Regions from separate parts of the Homo sapiens genome. Here region 1 is linked to region 2. The links are contacts of gene promoters, found by promoter capture Hi-C in blood cells and fetal thymus (Javierre and others, 2016). All regions are on one chromosome and are shown on one strand. Each heading gives the region's core, a stretch centred on a gene start or on the middle of the fragment in contact. The rest is flanking DNA. Distances are from core to core; before and after follow the strand shown.

Region 1 (4,048 bases), core at 1,537-4,036, 140 kb after region 2:
TCAGCTGGGGGACTCCAACGGCCAAACGGCCGCCTGCTCCTCACCGTCTGCTCTTCACTGGTTCCCCCGCCTGCTCTTCACCGTCTCAAAAGTCGCCGGCCCCTCTACAGGCGACAACTGCAGCTTCTCCGGCGGAAGTCACTCGCTTTCCCATTCTTAGCCCCGCTTCACACCTTGAGCTCACAGTCATTTCCGCCGGGCCTGGGCTAGCGGACGCGCGCGTGGGAAGGACCAGAACCCGTGGTGTCCTCACCGCGTCACCCTCGGGCCCTCAGAGGTGGGATCCACCGGACAGGGACCTGGAGTTTGCACAGGCTGCAGCCCTTCGCCCAGAGCCAGCCTAGCACCTAGTAGGTGCCCAATAAATGCTTGGTGAAGGAAGGCATTCCACCGCAGGGTTTTAGGAGAACCATGAATTCCCGTGTGAACGTTAAGCGTTTAGTCCTACTAGGAAGTCTGGAATATAGAGACCTGAACTGTTTCTCAAAGGCAGCTGTTCTTGTATCCCCAGAGCCGGTTTAGAATCCAGCAAAGGCCCCTGCCCGGTGGATCCCACCTCTGGAGACCCGAGGATAGTGCGGTGGGGGGCACCGCGGGTTCTTGTCCTTCCCACGCTCACGTCCACCGGCCCAGGCCCAAAGGAACTGGCTGTGGGTACAAGATGTGAAGATAGTTACAAATACCAGCTAGTGCCAGTGCCAGTTGCAGAAATCAGGACTTGTAATAGTTATGAGTATTTCTTCATTATTTTGAGATGAATACATTTGGGTGTATATTAACCAAAACTTTTCTTGAGAATTCTCCTCTTCCATCACCCTAGCTAGCACATTCATTAATAATTAACTTTTAGAAATCTCAATATTTAGGTTACAGGAAAGCAAATATGGAATGTGATCTATCTAGCTAAAAAAGGAGTGAACATCATTCAAAGACAAAGACTTTATCCTGTTGGGGAAAGGGTTGGCATATTTTCACTGAATGAGAAAAAGTATGATTTTCATATTGTCTTTATTTGAACCTTAAGTATGATTTTACAAGGAGGAAAAAGGAGGAGGAAGAAGCAAAAGAAGAGGAAGAGGAGGAAAAAAAGAAGAGGAGGAAGATGTACATTGATGCCACTTTGAGAAGAAGTGGACTGTGGTGGATTTGTAATGTATCAGTTTTGCCAAGCTGAATGCACATTTCCCAGATTTGCCATCTTTAGATAGCTCTAGGTTAGCCTGGGCAACAGGAGACACTTGGAAGATAGAATTCGAGTGGCTGTTACACTCTTTTGTATACTGGGAAGGGCGTTGTTACAGCTCAGGCATGATCTTCAGCTTCCCTGACCCTTGGACTGGTGGGTGTTTTGCTTCTTGATCTAACATTAAGGTTAGAAGTTGCAGGATTCCAGCAGGGTTTTGTCACATCCAATCTGGTTTAAGTTCTCATATTATTAGGAAAGCTTTAGGGTGCTTCAGGAAAACGCTTTTTAAAAAATCAAATTTGGAAAATATCAAATGGAATTATAGGCAATAAGCATAACCCAGTGGAACCATGAATCAAACCCTCTAGAGCAGGGTTGTCTAAATTTTGGCTTCCTTGGGCCACACTGGAAAAAAAAAAAAGACACTTGTCTTGGGCCAAACATAATATACACTAATCGCAATTGAACTGTACCTGTAAAGCTTGTAAACAAAATGTGTCTGTAAAGTCTGTAAACAGGCCAGGTGCGGTGGCTCAGGCCTGTAATCCCAACATTTTGGGAGGCCGCGAGGCAGGCGGAAAACTTGAGGTCAGGAGTTCAAGACCAGGGTGGCCAACATGGTGAAACCCTGTCACTCTTTTTTTTTTTTTTTTTTTTTGAGACGGAGTCTCACTCTGTCGCCCAGGCTGGAGTGCAGTGGTGCGATCTCAGCTCACTGCAACCTCTGCCTCCCGGGTTCAAGCGATTCTCTTGCCTCAGCCTCCTGAGTAGCTGGGACTACAGGCACGTGCCACCACACCCGGCTAATTTTTTTTTTTTGTATTTTTATTAGAGATGGGGTTTCACTGTGTTAGCCAGGATGGTCTTGACCTCCTGACCTCATGATCCACCCGCTTCCGCCTCCCAAAGTGCTGGGATTACAGGCGCGAGCCAGTGCGCCCGGCCCGGTGAAACCATGTCTCTACTAAAAATTCAAAAAATTAGCCGGACCTAATTTTTTGGTTGCCTGAGCCTGTAATGCCAGTTACTCGGGAGGCTGAGTATTCTCTGGTTGAGGAAGGAGAATAGCTTGAACGCAGGAGGCAAAGGTTGCAGTAAGGCGAGATCGCGCCATACACTCCAGCGGACTGTTTGCTGTTAATCCCATAGGGAAAAGAAAAGCTTAGTTTTATTTCTATAGAACAACAACAAAAAAAGATAAGAGATTAGTAGAGACGGGTTCACTATATTTGCCCACACACGCCTGAGGTCGAGCGATATTAACATAAACATAACCTATCGACGTACCTCATAGATTGCTGGGATTACAAACGTGAGAACCACGATGTCCCAAATTTTTAGTTTCAGTGAAGTTACAGATGGGAACAAAGACCTGATTCTCAGCTTACGCTGACGCCCAGTATGCGTTTCTGCAGCAAACAAAACCTATTTTTAAAACGACAAAAATACAGGGGAAAGCGCGAATGCAGTCTACCACTGCCACAAATTATACAGTCAAGTTTCCCACATTTGGGGAAACTGCAGGGGTCAGCAGATCCGGAGTGCAATGGATAAGACTCGCTCTGGAAAAACCACCTTCGTGACCAGGGTATCTCTCCTGCCAGGTAAGTATGAGTTATTGCACCTCCGCCCCGCCGGCAGCCTCACACGCTTCACCCTTTACACGCACGGTCACTTGCCCCGCGCACACCCCCCTCCCCCCCAGCCCTCCTAGCCCTGACACACAGCTGGGACTCTCAGGTCCGACCAGCGGTCCTGAACCCGCTCCCACGGCACGGGAACTCCTTCGTGGCGAAGCAGCATGTGGCGAAGCAGCAGCCCCTGCGCTGGCTCATCTACATAGAAGTCGCCCTATCCGTGATGTCACCGACAGCGCCTTTCCCAGTCCCCGTCTGCCTTTCTGCCGCTCAGCCGACCAACCCGCTGCCGGAGCCGGCAAGGGGAAGTGACGTCTGCCTCTCCCTTTTTTCTCTCCTGCTTCCCTCATCTGTTCTCTTCCAAAGAAGCTGGTCCTTAGCCTGTATTGCGGAGCAAGCTTTCGGCGACCAGCTGGACCCTGGGCACCCTTCTTCGAACAATGGCTTTTAATTCTCAGACTAGAACGTTTAGGATTACAAAAGAAACTGGTTCTTTTCACATTCTTATTCTTGTGATGTAGCATTCCGCATATATATATATATATATATATATATATATATATATATGTATCCAACTATCCTAAAAGACACTACCCTTCATCATTCCATGCCATTAGACATGTATAGGACCATGCATGGTGATCTCCTCCAGACAAAAGTAAATGCTGGTGCAGAACAGGTAAGTGTACTATAATTTGAGTACATCAGCTTTTGGGCATTTTAAACCATGGGTCAGACAAGTTAGAGCAAGAGGGCAGGTTGATAGCAAGAGGGAGTGTTTTTCTTTTAATTTTCTTTTTTTTTGTTTTGAGACGGAGTCTCGCGCTCTTCGCTCAGGCTGGAGTGCAGTGGGGCTATCTCGGCTCACTGCAAGCTCCGCCTCCCGGGTTCACGCCATTCTCCTGCCTCAGCCTCCCCAGTAGCTGGGATTACAGGCACCTGCCACCACGTCCGGCTAATTTTTTGTATTTTTAGTAGAGATGGGGTTTCACTCTGTTAGCCAGGATGGTCTCGATCTCCTGACCTTGTGATCCGCCCACCTCGGCCTCCCAAAGTGCTGGGATTACAGGCGTGAGCCACCGCGCCCGGCTTCTTTTAATTTTCAAATAGCAAAGTGATGTTTGCCACTGTCATTTCAGAATGAGGTGACAATTTGTTGTTGTTTGGTTTTGTGGGGTTTTTTGTTTGTTTGTTTGTTTCTGAGACAAGGTCTCACTGTCGCCCA
Region 2 (3,740 bases), core at 114-2,613:
AGGCTACCCCCTCACCATTACCAATGGCTATAGCTTTATCCCAAACCATGCTCATTTTCAGAAAGGTGTTTAGTATGTGAGCAGTTTTGCATCCAGAAAACTGGCAGGGCTGTATGACCAGAAACTGCAGCTCATTGGTTAGATAAACCCAGAGTTCTGACCACATAGTTAGTCAGTTATGCCTCAGGCCCCAGGGACCACCAAGGGTAAGAAGTTAGGGAGGGGATAATAGGAATCAGACTAGCCACGTGGAAGGTCACATCACATTTCTTTTTTGTCTCCTTACCCCTATAGGGCTTAGGATGAAGATTTTATATATTTAGATACAAATCTCAGCCAAGCATGGTGGCTCATGCCTATAATCCCGGCACTTTGGGTGGCTGTCGGGGGCGGATTGCTTGAGTCCAGGAGTTAAAGACCAGCCTGGCCAACATAGCAAAACTCTGTCTCTAAAAAAAAAAAAATTAGCCAGGCGTGGTAGCACACGCCTATAGTCCCAGCTACTCGGGAGGCTAAGGTGGAAGGATCACCTCAGCCTGGGAGGTTGAGGCTAGAGTGAGCCATGATCATGCCACTGCACTCCAGCTTGAATGACAGAGTGAGACCCTGTTTCAAAAAAAAAAATTAGCTGTGCGTGGTGGCGCGTACCTAGTAGTCCCAACTACTGAGCTGTGGTTGCACCACTGCACTCCAGCCTAGACAACAAAGTGAGACCCTATCTTTAAAAAATAATAATAATTATTATATACAATATATAACTATATAATATATAATTATGTTATATATTATATGTATATTATATATAATATATAATTATGTTATATATTATATGTATATTATATATAATATATAATTATGTTATATATTATATGTATATTATATATAATATATAATTATGTTACATATTATATGTATATTATATATAATATATAATTATGTTATATATTATATGTATATTATATATAATATATAATTGTTATATATTATATGTATATTATATATAATATATAATTATACATTATATATTATATAATTATTAGATACAAATCTTACACAAGGTCCTAGGCAGCTTTAGCCCCTGCCAGTCTCAATATTCAAACAGTCATATGTGAGGGCATAAAAATGCACAAGGACACAGACACACATACAAGAAATGTACAACCAGTGTTCGCTTCCTAACCTAAATCCCAAAGAATTTTAACTATAATGGTCCCAATTCCAAACAATCTATGTATCTTCCATCCCCACCAGAAACCAAGAAGTTAACTTCCCTCACCTGTCAGGAACACCAGGGGCAAGAACAGGTGAGTGACGAAGGGGAGTTCCATGCCTGATCGGTTTCTGTCCAGTATGAGAAGTCCTCTGGCCTCTGTCCCTCTCCTTTTCTGTTTTCTTCACTTTCCCTCCCATCCTGCCCCCTCCCAATGGCAGCTAAAAATAAAGTTGGAAGGAATGGGAGGAGTGATGGTGGGGAACTGTGGGGAGCCCCAGACCAAGGAAAACACTGAGCGATCTTAGTCTATTTCTCTGCCTTGGTGCTGCCCCCTGGAGGCCTCATCTCTATATCCAGAGAACATATTTTTTTGCCCATTTCTGCTATTTCTTTTTTTCTACTGTTTATTGTTGCCAGGTCAATAATGCTTTCCTCAAATTTGGAACAGGAGTGGGAGATGGATTCTTTTTTATAAGAAAAGAATCTTAAACTTTTGTTTAAAAGTTTTAGACAAATTATTTATATTGAGAATACAGACAGGGTTTCACTATGTTACCCAGGCTGGTCTTGAACTCCTGAACTCAAGGAATCCTCCCACCTCAGCCTCCCAAAGTGAGCCACTGCACCCAGCTGGGAGATAGGAGATAGATTCAGATTTTTTTTTTTCTTTTTTAAGGCAGAGTCTCACTCTGTCACCCAGGCTGGAGTGCAGTGGCACAATCTTGGCTCACTGCAACCTCTGTCTCCCACGTTCAAGCATTTCTCATGCCTCAGCCTCCCAGGTAGCTGGGACTACAGGCACATGCCACCATGCCTGGCTAATTTTTTATTTTTAGTAGAGGCAGGGTTTCACCATGTTGGCCAGGCTGGTCTTGAACTCCTGACCTTAAGAGATCCACCTGCCTCGGCCTCCCAAAGTGCTGGGATTACCGGCGTGAGCCACCACGCCTGGCCGATAGATTCACTTCCTAACCTTATTTATCTCAACCTGGAATATGGAAAATGAAAGAGCTGATAGCAGTGGTATCATTTCCCTACCCACCCAGGGGAGTCTCAACTTGTGAAGACACAGCTCCAAATCCTTACCAGCCCCACTCCACTTGGTTCTGTCCTTGGCTCTTAGCCTATGCTGTCATATGGCATTCTGCTTCTTAGAGGGATTATATCTGAACTGGTATGAGATGTGCTTTGTGGAGCCAGGACAATAACTTTAGTATTAGACCACTCCTCTGCCACCCCAACTCCTCAGCTAGGTTATAAACTTCTTAAAGTTGGGAGTGTGGAGCTTCTTAGATTTTTGGATGCCCACTAAGTATGTTGCTTTACATACTGTAGGTGCTCAAGAAAAATAATGTGGGTGATGTTAGTGGCTAATCCCGAGAAAAACCCAAACCACAGTGACAGGAATAGGGGCCTCAAATTACCAAAAAATGAGGGACCAGACCAAATGTCGATGAGCAAACTGAACTTTAATTTGCTTACCTGAAAGGCTTGCTCTTCATTATTGGCATAGGCCACAGCTATTTACACAGAATCATTGTACAGGATTTACAGCAAGATGCTACACATAGCATCATTCTGGATAAGCGACAAAGGAGTAAGAACAGACTGGGGAATAAAGCTCTGAAATCAAAGTGTAAGCAGAAATCTGAAGGTAGGTGTACAAGGAAGGATAAGGGCCAAATGATGAGCGAGGTTGGTGAGGTAGACATAAGGGAGGAAGAGGAAACATCCAACAACTTGTGGTGCAGAGATATAAGGGAAGAGTCCACTGGCACATAGTCTTAAAAATTATGTTTGGAGTTTGAAGGAGGAAAAATCTGCCATAAGCCACCTCTGTGAGAAAAAAGAAGGCAGTTAGAACCTTACAGGCCAAACCTTATACCTCCCCTATCAAAAAGTAATTCTGCTGATTAAATCCCTGGATAGGAGAATGAGAAGGTTGAAAAAAGAAAGAGAGAGATGCATAGACACAGAACCTTAAACAGAGTTAAGAGACACAAAGTAAATATATTCAAGAGAGACACAAAGAAAGAGGAAAAGAACAGAAGCTCAGGCACATCTAGAAATTAGAGACATCCTATTAACTTCACGAGTCATCTTTCCTTACCTCATCTTCCCCAAAGCTCTTCCTCCACCCCTAAATCTCTGAATTTCTAACTTTAACCAAAGAGTAGAATTCGAATGAGGCTGGCACATGGGGGACGATCTAAGATTCCATCTCACCAATTCAGGTCCCCTCCTTATCCTGTACCGGAAGGTCAGGGCTTGAGTCGTAGCCAGGGATAGATTAGGGTGAGAATAGACAGGATGGAGGACACGAGGCCACAAAGCCCCACAATCCCAGGGCCACAGCGCCAGAGGCCTAGTTTGTCCAGAGGAATGAAGAGATCACAGGCATTTCTGACCACGTCTAGCAGAAGTGGGGGATGACCTCTAAGGACTCGAGCCAGGAGCAGGACTTGCAGCCGAAGTTTCAGAGCCAGTTGGGGCAGACCTCCTCCTGGAGTCCCTGGTCCCCCAAGTC

The links. Contacts are between HindIII fragments. The CHiCAGO score rates a contact against its expected background, and 5 or more counts as called.
Region 1: a contact is called between a fragment that was not itself captured here and the fragment with the promoter of ITGA10 in region 2, in 8 of 17 cell types (non-activated CD4 T cells, neutrophils, naive B cells and 5 more). The highest score is 8.7, in non-activated CD4 T cells.

Annotation. Positions count from the first base shown.
Region 1 is chr1:146,049,447-146,053,494 of GRCh38, forward strand. RNVU1-6 (RNA, variant U1 small nuclear 6) reads right to left here and starts at 2,798; the gene lies at 2,635-2,798. LINC01719 (long intergenic non-protein coding RNA 1719) reads left to right here and starts at 3,150. Exons shown (of 3, transcript NR_125968.1): 1 at 3,150-3,502. RefSeq lists enhancers at 2,008-2,736, 2,737-3,468 and a silencer at 2,648-2,887. The HindIII fragment of the contact is 874 bases long and covers 2,350-3,223 here.
Region 2 is chr1:145,908,687-145,912,426 of GRCh38, forward strand. It overlaps ITGA10 (integrin subunit alpha 10), which reads right to left and starts at 1,364. Exons shown (of 30, transcript NM_003637.5): 1 at 1,277-1,364. The coding sequence starts at 1,328. PEX11B (peroxisomal biogenesis factor 11 beta) reads right to left here. Exons shown (of 4, transcript NM_003846.3): 4 at 2,664-3,740. The coding sequence ends at 3,475. The HindIII fragment of the contact is 6,999 bases long and covers 1-3,740 here.